Regions from separate parts of the Homo sapiens genome. Here region 2 is linked to region 1. The links are contacts of gene promoters, found by promoter capture Hi-C in human tissues and cell types (Jung and others, 2019). All regions are on one chromosome and are shown on one strand. Each heading gives the region's core, a stretch centred on a gene start or on the middle of the fragment in contact. The rest is flanking DNA. Distances are from core to core; before and after follow the strand shown.

What was found. Contacts are between HindIII fragments. The study calls those that stand out against the background at their distance.
Region 2: a contact is called between the fragment with the promoter of DHDH here and a fragment that was not itself captured in region 1, in 3 of the 25 tissues and cell types used here (aorta, dorsolateral prefrontal cortex and thymus).

Annotation. Positions count from the first base shown.
Region 1 is chr19:48,630,068-48,637,410 of GRCh38, forward strand. It overlaps DBP (D-box binding PAR bZIP transcription factor), which reads right to left and starts at 7,312. Exons shown (of 4, transcript NM_001352.5): 1 at 6,789-7,312; 2 at 5,513-5,923; 3 at 3,377-3,588; 4 at 1-985. The coding sequence starts at 6,927. The coding sequence ends at 770. It overlaps SPHK2 (sphingosine kinase 2), which reads left to right. Exons shown (of 7, transcript NM_020126.5): 7 at 1-338. RefSeq lists silencers at 4,484-4,663, 5,374-5,683, 5,804-5,863, 6,900-7,019, 7,250-7,343. The HindIII fragment of the contact is 4,057 bases long and covers 555-4,611 here.
Region 2 is chr19:48,927,342-48,934,948 of GRCh38, forward strand. It overlaps DHDH (dihydrodiol dehydrogenase), which reads left to right and starts at 6,358. Exons shown (of 7, transcript NM_014475.4): 1 at 6,358-6,470. The coding sequence starts at 6,381. RefSeq lists an enhancer at 5,931-6,432. The HindIII fragment of the contact is 30,682 bases long and covers 1-7,607 here.

The DNA.
Region 1 (7,343 bases), core at 1,333-3,832:
TCCTACCCGGCCAGGATGGCTGAGGGCGGAGTCTATTTTACGCGTCGCCCAATGACAGGACCTGGAATGTACTGGCTGGGGTAGGCCTCAGTGAGTCGGCCGGTCAGGGCCCGCAGCCTCGCCCCATCCACTCCGGTGCCTCCATTTAGCTGGCCAATCAGCCCAGGAGGGGCAGGTTCCCCGGGGCCGGCGCTAGGATTTGCACTAATGTTCCTCTCCCCGCGGGTGGGGGCGGGGAAATTCATATCCCCTGTTCGTCTCATGCGCGTCCTCCGTCCCCAATCTAAAAAGCAATTGAAAAGGTCTATGCAATAAAGGCAGTCGCTTCATTCCTCTCAGACCTTCTGCCCTTCCTCCATCCGACAGCCCGCGGGAGGACTCAGACTCCAGCACTTCCAGCAGCGCCTGCCCTCTATGGACGACAGCCCGGAGCTGCCCACGGGCTGCAGCCAGTATGCCAGGGAGCTGCCCTCTTCTTCCACAACAGCTGGCTCTGGGGTTCTCAAGATTTATTCAGGATCGTGTTAACGGAGGCGGTGGGAGGATAGGGTCCCTGACGTGCCGGGGACACACACAGAGAACCCTCCCCGCCCCCGCAAGGGAGGGGGGAGGCTCGCTTTTTCTTAAAAATATAAATGTATTTATCTGCATTATCACGTCCCTGGGGCACCCAGCTGGCCGGCCCGTGGGCCACAGGGCAGGAAGGGAACAGGGCGTAAGTCTCAGCAAGGCGGAGGAGAGCTCCGCCAGGTGGGGATGTGGGGCAGCCTCACAGGGCCCCGTGCTGGGCCTGGTATCGGGACAGCACGGCGCGGTAGTGGGACAGCTCCTGGCGCACGGCCACAACTTCCTGCCGCAGCAGGGCGTTCTCCTTCTCCAGGAAGGCCGCCCGCACCGATATCTGGTTCTCCTTGAGCCGCCGGGCGTCACGGGACCGCTTGGCTGCCTCGTTGTTCTTGTACCGCCGGCTCCAGTATTTCTCATCCTGCAGGAGAAGAGGGGGAGAGCACTGAGGTCCAGAGGGACCCAGGTCCCAGCGAGAGAGGAAGGGAGCCCCAGCAGCGGGGCCTAAACCACACCAGGTCTCTGCTGGGATAGGTACCCAAGGGTCTGCCTTTCTAGGGCCCTGGTTGCTAAGGAGATTGGGCCCCTAGCAACAGTAAAGGCATGAGATAGACCCCCCACCCTCAAGCAACTCGCTTCAAGTCTCCACTCTGCAAAGCGGACCCCAGCCCTCCCCACATGATAAAGGCCTGCATGCAGTTAGCTCTTGCTTGCTAAGGATGCTTGTTCCCTAGCAACAAGGCCTTCATGGTCTGAGGGCTTCTCCCAATGAAGAGCACTGCCCTGCCCTGCACATTGCCTTTCCAGATCCTGGTTGCTAAGGAAAGCTTGGTGCCCTGGTGATGGGGTTTGGTGTCCCATAAAATCCTCGCAGAGCTGGGGCCTTCTGACCTGGTTGCCAAGGCAACCTCATCCATCCTTGGCAAACAAAAGTGAGGTCTAAGTGGTTTCAATGACTGTGGCCAGCCTCTGACCTGCTGGCCTTGAACTGAGGCCAGAGAATAGCCTCCTCCCCAGTAGGACCTGACTGAGAGAAGAGCTGTCTCTTAGGAAAGGGGACTATCCTGAGACCTCCCCAGAGGATTATACCTAAAGTCCTCCCATCCTGGAAGTTGGTTCCTAAGGAAGACTCCTCCTTAGTAACCAAGGACCACGGGGCTCAGAAAGATGCTCTCTACTCCACTATTTAATTAAAGCCCAGTTCCTGCTTGTGAGGGTAAATCCAGTCCCTAGCAACAGGGCCCTCTAGAAGGAGAAACCACTGGTGTAGATCTGACTTCCAGGCCAGTCCTAGGTGCTTCAAGTAGCTATGTGTTACGCAAGGGTATGGCAAAGTCTTGTTTGTTTTTGAGATGGAGTCTCGCTCTGTCGTTCAGGCTGGAATGCAGTGGCATGATCTCGGCTCATTGCAACCTCCACCTCCCAGGTTCAAGCGATTCTCCTGCCTCAGCCTCCCAAGTAGCTGGGATTATAGGTGCCCGCTACCATGTCCGGCTAATTTTTGTTCTTTTTTTTTTTTTTTGAGATGGAGTTCTCACTCTGTCGCCCAGGCTGGAGTGCAGTGGCGCGATCTCGGCTCACTGCAACCTCCGTCTCCTGGGTTCAAGCGATTTTCCTACATTAGCCTCCCAAGTAGCTGGGACTACAGATGAGTGCCACCATGCCCAGCTAATTTTTGTATTTTTTTGTAGAGACGGGGTTTCACCATGTTGGCCAGGATGGTCTCCTGATCTCGTGATCTGTCCGCCTCGGCCTCCCAAAGTGCTGTGATTACAGGTGTGAGACACCACACCCGGAACATTTTTGTACTTTTAGTAGAGGCGAGGTTTCACCATGTTGGCCAGGCTGGTCTCAAACTCCTGACCTCAAGTGATCCGCCCACCTCAGCCTCCTAAAGTGCTAGGATTACAGGCGTGAGCCAACGCGCCTGGCCCGGAATGACAAAGTCTTGTAACAGAAGCCCAAGCAACTCTTGCTAGGGAAGACTCCAGTAATGGCAAAAAACAAAATCATGCAAAGATGCAATGACTGCTCAAATCACCCCAAATCAGAAAGTGGCACTGGCTGCTAACAGAAGCCTGAAGTCTCCCACCAGTGAGAAGTCCAGGCCCAGGAAACAAGGCCTAAAGGGGCTGGCACAGTCTTCATCCTAGCCAAATGCAATCACTCCAAAGGAAGTCCCACATCAGAGATCAAAGGCCTGCTGAGTAAGGAGAGACAGGCCACAGGCTGATATCCCATTGCCAAAGGAAGACTGTCCTTTGCAAGTGTGCCTGGTGGAGCTCTGGACCCAAGTAATAGGAGAAGCTCCAAGTCTCTACAAGTAGACCTAGCAGAGCTGGCTGAGTCAGCACCCCACAGTGACACTGTCTTTTGTTTTAAGACAAGGTCTCCCTCTGTTGCCCAGGCTGGAGTGCAGTGGTGTAATCTTGGCTCACTGCAGCCTCAATCTCCCAGGCACAAGCAGTCCTCCCACCTCAGCCTCCCAAGTGGCTTGTAGAAATGGGGTTTTGCCATGTTGCCCAGGCTGGTCTTGAACTCCCGAGCTCAAGAGATCCTCCTGCCTCAGCCCCCTAAAATGCTGGGATTACACGAGTGAGGCCCCTCGCCCAGTTGACACTGTCTTTATAAACCTCAGGCCCCTGCCCCCTTGTGCCCCGTGGCCAAGGAGGACTAATCTGTGGCTGCAGGCCAGGAGAGGCTGAGCACTAATCCCAAGGAGAAGCCCAGGCTTGACTGTGAGAAAAGGCCCCTCCCTGGCTGTGGGGCATGTCTCCAGCCAAGTCTATCTCCCACATCCAGCTCTGCTCACCTTCTGCTCCTCCGGCACCTGGATTTTTCTTGCCTTCTTCATGATTGGCTGGGGCTTAAGTTCCTCTTCTGAGAAGCGATGTCTTCGAGGGTCAAAGGTCTCGTGGCCAGGAATGCTTGATAGGGCAAGATCAGCTGGGTCGGGTTCAAAGGTCATCAACACCTCCACGGTGTCTGGGTCCACAGGGCTGGGTGTGTCCCGAGAGGTCAGGCCTTGGGGAAACAGCACGTGTCAGCTGAGTGTGTATTTTAAGGAGGGGGTTTCCTGAAGCTACTTTTTGCTGTGGTATCATAGCCACATGGAAAGTCCTTCTGGGATCTAGCATAAATTCGGCCAGGGATTAATCTCCCTAATATAAAATATGAAGGTTCCCTTGGCCAGGCGCAGTGGCTCACGCCTGTAACCCCAGCAGTTTGGGAAGCCGAGGCGGCGAATCACCTTTAGTCAGGAGTTCAAGACCAGCATGGCCAACATGGAGAAACCTCATCTTTACTAAAAGTACGAAAATTGCCCAGGTGTAGTGGCGGGTGCCGGTAAGCCCAGCTACTAGGGAGGCTGAGGCTGGAGAATTGCTTGAACCCGGACCCTGGAGGTGGAGGTTGCAGTGAGCTGAGATCATACCACTGCACTCCAGCCCGGACAACAGAGCGAGACTCCGTCTCCAAAATAACGAGAAAAATGAAGGTTCCCCTAAGCCATAAAGATGCTTAGAGATCATGGAGCCATATCCACCTTTACAAACAAGGAAACTGAGTCCCAGTCATAACTGACTTGCCCTAGGTAACACACGAATCAGGGCTATTGCTTCTACACTTGATCTTAGCCAAAAGGCCGAGAAGCGATGGGGCTATTGCTTCTAAAACCTCAGGACTTCAGATGCACAGTCTAGCCTGAATCCTACTTACCGAATCCACGACCTAAGCTTAGACCCCAGACTGTCCAGAGAAAAAGAATCTACTGCACTGAAAAGCTCTCAAGTTAGAGTCTAAGAGCTACTCGCTGGAAAGAGGAGGAGAAGCTGCTCTAAGGTTCCAGAAGATTGGTTCGAAAGGAGGCGCCTGTACCTTTAAGCACCAGCCAGCCGGGGCCAGCTAAGGACACAGGTTCAGGGCCGAGTCACGTGCTGACGCCTGCTTCCCTCCTCCTCCCTTCCTCCCAGGCCCCCGCCATCGGCGCCCTCACGTTCCCCCGGCCCCGCCCCCCTCGCGCTTGAAGGCGCCTGCGCGAAGCGCGGAGGAGGGATGGGAGGACTCACGTGGCGCAGGAATGTGCCGCTGGGAAGGGTAGGGCCCTGGTTCGGCCCGGAGGTCGGACCTGGAGCAGGTGTGCCCAGGAATCCCCGACCTGCAGTCCGTCCCTGGAGACCTCAATGTGCCCAAAGGGAAACATCTTTCCTCTTGCTCTTCCAGTCACTTAGTTCCACTCAACCTCCAAAGATTCCCAACCCCCTGCTCTCCGGGGAGCATCGGCCTCCTGGACCTTCCCAGAACCCCCGCCACTGGGCTACCACGATTCTGGGATCCCAGGCCTCTCCTAGGAATATAGGAAGCTTGGCCCCAGCCCCAATTGGAGGATCCAGAAACAACATCCCTAACGTTTTCCCTTCTGAAGAACTCTGGGACCCGGGGCTGCAGCACGCCCCACTGGGGGACCCAGGGACCTGGGCTGCCAGTCTCTTATGTCCTGGGTAAACAGAATTCTGTGCCTCTCCTTTGCCTTTGCCCCTGTAAAGGACCTAGGGGCTCCAGTCCTATCCCAGTTCCATCGATTATGGGCCCAGATTCGGGGGTCAGTCCACTCCCCAGTAAATAACTCTGGTGTTCCGGACTTCCAGTTCTGGCTTCACGAGTATCCACATCGTTTGTCCCCAAGTCCCACAGAAAAACCCACAAAATCTCATTGGGCAGGCTTCCTGGAATTTAGGGTTCCAAGTCTCTCCTCCCCCATGGATCCATTGGTCCCTGACCCATTAAGAGACACCGAATCTGGCCCCCTCCCACGACACCTCTCGACAACTGGACACAGAATTCGAGGCCGCAGCCAGGTCCCACGGTCCCAGCCCCCAGCGTCGCACAGCCCCGCCCCCTGAGTCCAAGCCCCGCCCCGTCAGGACCCGCCCCGCCCCCTTCGCCGCACCTGCGCGGTGGCCGCTGGCGGTCCCGAGGGCAGCCCGGGCGGGGGCGTGCCCAGGAGAGGAGCGGGGGGAAGCCGAGCCGCACGAACCCGGCCCTGGGGAGGGTGCGGGCGTCCGCGCGGGCGACGGCTCCGGCGACGGGCCACCGGGGGGCGGCGGGCTGGGCGGGAGCCCGTGCTCCAGCAGGAAGGCGTCCAGGTCTACGTACTCCACATCGCCGAACGGCAGCGTGCGCTCCCACAGCAGTGGCGCCAACAGACCCGGGGCGGGCACCGGCCCCGGGCGCCCCCGCGGGGACCCTCCGCCCACCACTGCCCCAGCCGGGGCATCCGCCGGGCCCGCAGTCTCCAGGCCTGGCCCAGGGGTTGTGGCTGCAGGCAGGGCCGCCTTGCGCTCCTTTTCCTTCAGGAGACCTGCGGGCCGGGAAAGACGGGTTGGGATGAGGGTGAGGTGGGGGAGATAGAGATGGAGAAGAGACCCCGAGTCCGAGAGGCACAGGGCGGAGATCCAGAGAAAGAGGGGACGGGGGGTCGGAGAGGAGAGACGGGAGAAAAAGGGACGGAGACGCAGAGTGGGAGAGAGACCCAGAAAGAATGGAGACGGGGGTGGCAGAGACAGGTGGACAGATTCACAGAGATGGGGACAGAATGCCGGGAAGGAATAGACACACAGAAAGACAGCGAACCAGAGAAAGAGAGACGGAAGTTCAGGAATAGGGGGGCAGGGACAGGGTAGGTGGAGGGTTGGGCAGGTGAGAGAAAAAATGACAGCTCTGTAATTTCACTGTAATTACCCAACCCCCATCCCCTGCGCGCTGTACCCCCTTCCCCTCCCCCACCATCTGTAAGGGGCAGGAAGGGGCTCTATTCCTGGGGCACATCCCTCATCCCTAGACTCCATGTGACCCCATGACGCCCCGCCCAAGCCCGTGTCACCACCGTGTGAGCACCCGACACACCCCCTCCCTGGGACCCCAGGGGTCCAGACTCCCGGACCAAAAGGAAGAGGAGGCTGGGGCCTACACTCTTGTGAACTAAGCGGGGAGGACGTTGGGGACGTTGGTGCCTGGGTCCTTAGGGTGGACGGGCTTCAGAGCCGGCGCTTTTGGGTCCTGGGCGCTAAGGGATCTAGGGGCCTAAACACCTGAGTAATTGAGTAGATTAAGGTTGGGAAGATGGACTCCCCGCACGCAGGTTTCTATGGGACCCCACCCCACGGCACCTGAGTCCCTAAGGGGGTAGGGTGTCCGAAGTGGGTGAGATGGGGGTTAGAACTCACAGCTGGCCGGCTCTTTGGGCTTGCTGGTCCCCTGCAGAAGGCTCCGCAACCCAAGCAGCGCTCCCCCGCCAGGGGGTGTCCCGGCCGGGCCGCCCAGCAGCAGAGGGGCCGGGGTCCTGTCGCTCACAGGCCGCGCCATCGCCTGGCACCTGCCCCCAGGCTCACGGGTTCATGGAGAGGCGAAGGGCTGGCCTGCCAGTCACCAGCACACTCCAGTGGTTTGGACGAGTGTCTGCCCAGGGGCGGGCGAGTGTAGCCTGCAACCCTCCAGTATCCAGAACGCTGCAAATCCTAGGAGCGACGGGGATTTGAGGTCCTCGGTGCAGAAACGTGCAACTCAAGAGGGTCCCGGGAGATCATGCAATCTGGGCGAGGGGGTGTCCAGATCAAGCGGTCGGCTCTTTGCAACCGAGGGTGAGAGGGGACTCAAGGCGCTCCTTCTACAAGGTGGGCGAGCCTGGCTCTTGCAAAATCTGCAGCTCTCGCAACGGAAGGCGCTTTGCAATCTGCACCGAGAGGTGTGCGCGGAGGGGCGGAGGAGGGGGCAGGAGGAGG
Region 2 (7,607 bases), core at 5,108-7,607, 300 kb after region 1:
TTTTTTTTTTTTGAGACAGAGTCTCACTCTTGTTGCCGGTGGCTCGATCTCGGCTCACTGCAACCTCCGCCTCCCGGGTTCAAGTGATTCTCCTGCCTCAGCCTCCTGAGTAACTGGGATTACAGGCGCCCACCACGCCCAGCTAATTTTTGTATTTTTAGTAGAGACAGGGTTTCGCCATGTTGGCCAGGCCGGTCTCAAACTCCTGTCCTCAGGTGATCTGCCCTCCTCTGCCTCCCAAAGTGCTGGGATTATAGGCATGAGCCACCACGCCCAGCCAACCCTGTTTCTTTCTTTTTCTTTTTTTTTTTTTTTTGATACGGAGTCTTGCTGTGTCCCCCAGGCTGGAGTGCAATGGCACAGTCTCGGCTCACTGCAACCTCCACCTCCCGGGTTCAAGCAATTCTCCTGCCTCAGCCTCCCAAGTAGCTGAGATTACAAACCCCGTCTCTTAAAAAAGGAAAAAAATCACATGGCAGAGTAGCATTTTAAAATAAAGTCACGAGGCTGGGCGCGGTGGCTCACGCCTGTAATCTCAGCACTTTGGGATGCTGAGGCAGGCGAATCACCCGAGGTCAGGAGTCTGAGACCAGCCTGACCTACGTTGAGAAACCCCGTCTCTACTGAAAATACAAAATTACCCGGGCCTGGTGGCGCATGCCTGTAATCCCAGCTGCTCAGGAGGCTGAGGCAGGAGAATCGCTTGAACCCAGGAGGTGGAGGTTGCGGTGAGCCGAGATCACGCCATTGCACTCCAGCCTGGACAACAAAAGCAAAACTCCGTCTTAAAAAATAAATAAATAAATAACATTAAACTACGTCACTCAGCCTGTGAACAATGGCTCACGCTTATAACCCAGCAATTTGGGAGGCCGCAGCAGGTGGATCACTTGAGGTCACGAGTTCGAGACCAGCCCGGCCAACATGGTAAAACCGCATTTCTACTAAAAATACAAAATTAGCTGGGTGTGGTGATGGGCGCCTGTAATCCCAGCTACTCATGAGGCAGGAGAATCGCTTGAACCCAGGAGGCGGAAGTTGCAGTGAGCTGAAATTGTGTCACTGCACTCCAGCCTGGGTGACAGAGCAAGACTCCGTCCAAAAAAAAAAAAAAAAAAAAAGGGACCATGTTCTAGTGTAGGGGTAAGTGGATTGTTTTGGCCCCAACCCCAAGAGGATCAAGGGAGACCACTGCAGCTGCCCGAGAAATTCTTGCCCTCTGACAAGAAACACCCTATCCAGTCTGGGGAATTTGCCAGTCCAACCCCTCCCCTTGGCTCAAGATTCTGGGAAATCCTAAATAGTGTTTACCATTGGCCTTTTATCAGCTCCAGTATAAATGCGTCTGGCCAGACTTGCTTTACAACTATGCATAATGGATAGTTGGGCCAGGCTTGGTGGCTCATGCCTAGTGCTTTGGGAGGCCGAGGTGGGAGGATCACTTCAGCCCAAGAGTTGGAGGCCAGCCTAGGCAACATGGTGAGACACCATCTCTACAAAAAAAAATTTTATTTTCTGTTTTTTTTTTGAGACGGAGTGTGGCGCTGTCACCCAGGCTGGAGCAACAGAGCCAGACTTTGTCTCAAATAAATAAATAAATAAATAAAACCTGCAAAAAAATTTTTTTAAATGCCATTTTTCTTTCTTTCTTTCTTTCTTTTTTTTTTTGAGGCAGAGTCTTGCTGTGTCACCCAGGCTGGAGTGCAGTGGCGTGATCTCGGCTCACTGCAAGCTCTGCCTCCCGGGTTCACGCCATCCTCCTGCCTCAGCCTCCTGAGTAGCTGGGACTACAGGCGCCCGCCACCATGCCCGGCTAATTTTTTGTATTTTTAGTAGAGATGGGGTTTCACTGTGTTAGCCAGGATGGTCTTGATCTCCTGTCCTCGTGATCCGACCACCTCGGCCTCCCAAAGTGCTGGGATTACAAGCGTAAGCCACCGCGCCTGGCCATTTTTCTTTTTAATCAATCCTGCCACTTGAAGATTATATGGTAAGGGAAATCTGCAGTCTATACACAATACTGAGTTGCTCCAAGCCCTTGAGGATTGTGAGGGACCCAGTGTTCTAATTCTTGCTAGAGTGTCTACCTCCATGTTACCAGAGGCGAGTCTGACCGGGTACTGACATGTGATATACCATTAAGTGTGCAGTGGGTTCTTTTAGCCTTTCCCAAATGTCTTTCCACATGGCAGCGCCCCACAGCATTTTCTTTTTCTTCTTTTTTCTTTTTCTTTTTTTTTTTTTTCTTTTTTTTCCTGGGCAACAGAGTCTCACTCTGTTGCCCGGGCTAGAGTGCAGTGGCGTGATCTCGGCTCACTGCAAGCTCTGCCTCCTGGGTTCAAGCGATTCCAGTGCCTCAGCCTCCCAAGTAGCTGGGATTACAGGTGCACACCACCACGCCCAGCTAATTTTTGTATTTTTAGTAGAGATGGGGTTTCACCCTGTTGGCCAGGCTGGTCTCAAACTCTTGACCTCAGGTGATCCGCCCGCCTCGGCCTCCCAAAGTGCTGGGATTACAGGCGTGAGCCACTACGCCCGCCCTCTTTTTTCTTTTTTGAGACAGAGTCTCACTCTGTTGCCCAGGCTGGAGTACAGAGGTGCCATCATAGCTTACTGCAGCCTCAACCTTCCCAGCTCAAGCGATCCTCCCGCTTCAGCCTCCCTAGTAGCTGGGAATACAGATGCACACCACCACACCTGGCTAATTTTTTGCAGGTTGGTCTCGAACTCTTGGGCTCAAGAGATCTGCCCGCCACAGTCTCCCAAAGTGCTGGGATTACAGGCATGTGCCACCGTGCCCGGCATATTTTCTTTTCAGTGTTTACCTTTTTGCCTCCTCTGAGGTGCTGGAGTGCAGCAATAAGAAAGTAATAATTTTAGGCCGGGCGCAGTGGCTCACGCCTGTAATCCCAGCACTTTGGGAGGCCGAGGAGGGCGGATCACGAGGTCAGGAGATCAAGACCATCCTGGCTAACACAGTGAAACCCTGTCTCTACTAAAAATACAAAAAATTAGCCAGGCGTGGTGGTGGGCGCCTGTAGTCCCAGTTACTTGGGAGGCTGAGGCAGGAGAATGGCGTGAACCCGGGAGGCAGAGCTTGCAGTGAGCTGAGATCGAACCACTGCACTCCAGCCTGGGTGACAGAGCAAACCTTCATCTCAAAAAAAAAATATATATATATATTATATATATATATTTTTTTTTTTAGACCGGGTCTTCCTCTGTTGCCCAGGCTGGGGTGCAGTGGTGTGATCTCGGCTCACTGTAACCTCTGCCTCCCAGGCTCACGCCACTCTCCTGCCTCAGCCTCCAGACTACAGGTGCCCGCCACCACGCCTGGCTAATTTTTTGTATTTTTAGTAGAGATGGGGTTTCACCGTGTTAGCCAGGATGGTCTTGATCTCCTGACCTGGTGATCCACCCATCTTGGCCTCCCAAAGTGCTGGGATTACAGGTGTGAGCCACTGTGCCTGGCCGCTGAGTAGTATTTTGTTGAATCCACTGGCAGCTTAAAGGACATTTGGGCTTGAGCTATGTACAGCTGCTAACACCTGTGCACTGGTTTGTGTGCAAACATGTTATTTTTTCTTTCTAGGACAAATACCTGGGAGTATCAAAATTATTTTTTGATATTTATTATTAAATGATTTTTTCTTTTTCTTCATAGTAATGATATTGTGTCCTATGTGGATTTCCCTCCCCCTAAACCTTTTTTTTTTTTTTTTTTTTTTTTTGAGACAGAGTCTCTCTCTGTCACCCGGGCTGGAGAGCAGTGGTGCGATCTTGGCTCACTGCAACCTCCTCCTCCCAGGTTCAAGCAATTTACCTGCCTCAGCCTCCCAAGAAGCTGGGATTGCAGGCGTCCGCCACCATGCTTGGCTAATTATTTTGTATTTTTAGTAGAGATGGGGGTTTCACCATGTTTGCCAGGCTGGTTTCGAACTCCTGACCTTAAGTGATCCGCCCACCACGGCCTCCCAAAGTGCTAGGATTACAGGCATGAGCCACTATGCCCTGCCCCCTCCCCCCACTTTTTTTTTTTGGTAGAGATGGGGTCTTGCTTTGTTGCCCAGGCTGGTCTCAAAGTCCTGGCTTCAAGCATTCCTCCCATTTGGGCCTCCCACAGTACTGGGATTACAGGCGTGAACCACCGTGCCTGGTCCCATTTGTGTTTCTATTCAGCAGTTTGTGTAAACTTGAAGTCTGTGAATCCATGTGTGACACTCAGGTCTTAATTATTGTCTACCAAGTAAGAGAAAGTGACAATATCCTGCCCTGTGTGAAGCTGGCCAGCCAGTTAGGAATTATCATGTCCCAACCAGCCTGGGAAACTTGGCAAGACCCTGCCTTGATAAAAAGTTTAAAAATCGACTGGACACAGTGTCTCATACCTATAATCCCAGCACTTTGGGAGGCTGAGGCAGGAGGATTGCTTGAGCCCAGGAATTGGAGACCAGCCTGGACAACAAAGTGAGACCTTTTCTGTACAAAAAATTGCTGGGCATGGTGGCTCATGCAGGTAATCTCAGCACTTTGGGAGGCCAAGGCAGGCGGATCACCTGAGGTCAGGAATTCGAGGCCAGCCTGGCCAACACAGTGAAACCCCATCTCTAGTAAAAATACAAAAATTAGTCGGGCGTGGTAGTGGGCGCCTGTCATCCCAGCTACTCGGGAGGCTGAGGTAGGAGAATTGCTTGAAACTGGGAGGTGGAGGTTGCAGTGAGCCAAGATTATGCCACTGCATGATCACCCCAGCCTGGATGACAGAGCGAGACTTCGTCTCAAAAACAAAAAACAAACAACAACAGCAACAAAAATTAGCAGGCTGGGTGCAGTGGCTCATGCTTGTAATCCCAGCACTTTGGGAGGCCAAGGCAGGCAAATCGCAAGGTCAGGAGATCGAGACCATCCTGGCCAACATGGTGAAACCCTGTCTCCACTAAAAATAAAAAAAATTAGCTGGGCATGGTGGAGGGCGCCTGTGGTCCCAGCTACTCAGGAGGCTGAGGCAGGAGAATCACTTGAACCAGGGAGGCGGAGGTTGCAGTGAGCTGAGATCACACCACTGCACTCCAGCCTGGGGATAGAGTGAGACTCCGTCTCAAACAAACAAACAAACAAATAGCGGTAAGTGGGGCACATGCCTATACTCCCAGCTACTCAGGAGGCTGAGGCGGGAAGATAGCTTGAGCCCAGGAGTACAAGGCTGCTGTGAGCTATTATCACGCCACTGCAGTCCAGCTAGGTAACAGAGTGAGACCCTATCTCTAAAATAATTAATAAATAAAACAAAATAATTAGCCAGGTGTAGTAGCCAGTAGCTACTTTGGGTCCCAGCTACTGTAGTCCCAGGTACTAGGGTGGCTAAGGCAGGAGCTAATTCCTTGAGCTAAGGAATTTGAGGCTGCAGTGAGCTATGATTGTGCCACTGCACTCCTTCCTGGGCGACAGAGCGAGACCCTATATCAATAATAATTATAATAATACAGTATATTTTACATAATAGACCATAGAGCTCAATGAATCCTCCTCACAACCCTATGTAGGTAGATGTTATCATGATCTCTGCTTTCCAGAATAGAAAAGTGAGGACCAGAGAGGGCGACCTCTTGTCCAAAAGCAATACAGCCAAGAAGGGGCAAGGAGGGTTTTGAAACCAGTCGGCCAGGCTCTGGGGCTCCTAACAAGCAAAGCAGCCTGGTTTCTAAAACTATAGCTTCTGGAAGCAGCCAATTCACAGGTCTTTACCTCCTGACTGTGAGACCTCCAAAAAATGACCAGGGATCTTGGAGTCTGTTTCCCCCTTTGTGAACTGGGGACAATAGAAGCTACTTCCCAGGTCTGCGGGGAGAAATTAGGAACGAAGAAGGTAAAGCGCAGAGCTGAGGAGCTGGTCTACAGGTGCTCTATACATATTAGTAATAATTATTAAGTTTGCTGTTACAATCCTCTCTCTCTCTGTGAACAACCCCTAATGATGCGTGGCTTTGAGAGCAAAAAAGTCAGGGCAAAGTTTTGCCACAAAGTCCAGAGGGCAAGACATTAAATCTAACTCTCAAGGATTGGTGTTGGCAAGAAAGCAAACCTCTCCTCCCCACGCTGTCCTTACCCCGCGTATCCGACGAGCCTAAAGTCATAGGTAAGAGATCTGTAGAAGCGACGTCAAGGTGTGGTTCCCTCTGTAAGGCGGAGCTAAACGGTGCATTCGCCCAGCGGGGAAGCTAGAACTAAATGACCGCTCTGCCGACTGGAGCCAACGAGAATCGGCGTAGGCGCAATACGGGCGGAGGATGGGGACCCGCCCCCGGGGTGGGCGGGGCGTCAGGTACTTAATTCGCGCCTGGAGGGACCGAAGGTGCCGAGGGCTCCGCATCGCAACCATGGCGCTGCGCTGGGGCATCGTGTCTGTCGGCCTCATCTCCAGCGACTTCACAGCCGTGCTGCAGACGCTGCCTCGCTCTGAGCACCAGGTCTGCCCGCCCTCCGGATTCTGGGGAAGAGGAGGCGGGGGGCGGGACTCCAGAGTCTAAAGGAGGAGGGAGTTTAGGGTTCAGGACTAGTGAGTGGGTCGTCATTGCAGTGAAACGTCTGTTTCCTTGCTACCTCCTTCTCCATCTCTGTTCTGCAAACCTGTGGGGAAAAGAAAGATCAGATTGTTACTGTGTCTACGTAGAAAATGAAGACATAAGAAACTCCATTTTGAACTGTACTAAGAAAAATTGTTTCTGCTTTGAGATGCTATTAACCTGTAACTTTAGCCCCAACCGTGTGCTCACAGAAACATGTCCTGTATTGAATCAAAGTTTAATGGATTTAGGGCTTTGCAGGATGTGCCTTGTTAACAATATGTTTGCAGGCAGTATGCTTGGTAAAAGTCATCGCCATTCTCCATTCTCTATTAACCAGGGGCACATTGCACTGCGGAAAGCCGCAGGGACCTCTGCCCAAGAAAGCCTGGGTATTGTCCAGGGTTTCCCCCCACTGAGAAAGCCTGAGATATGGCCTCGTGGGAAAGGAAGACCTTACATCCCCTAGCCCGACACCAGTAAAGGGTCTGTGCTGAGGAGGAGTAGTGAAAGAGGGAGGCCTCTCTGCAGTTGAGATAAGAGGAAGGCTTCTGTCTCCTGCTCTCCCTGGGAATGGACTGTCTCAGTGTAAAGCGGACCATTCCCATTCCTTCTATTCTGAGATAGGAGAAAACCTACCTGTGGCTGGAGGCGAGATATGCTGGCAGTGATACTGCTCTGTTACTCTTTGCTACACTGAGATGTTTGTGTAAAGTGAAACATAAATCTAGCCTACGTGCACATCCGGTCACAGCACCTTTCCTTGAACTTATTCATGATACAGATTCCTTTTCTACATAGACACAGTAACAATCTGATCTCTCTTTCTTTTCCCCACACAAACCTGAGTGTCTTGAGGTTTGGAAAGGCCTTGATGTAAGCTACTATGAAGATAATTTCAATATTGGGGGATTTAATAACGGCTTTCCCCCAGATCTCTCTTTCCCAGGGCCCAAATGTCCAGCCCCCGTCATCTCTTCCCCCAGGACCACGTCTCCCCTTCCCCTGGCCAGAGCCTCCTCCTTTGCCTCCCTTCCACCC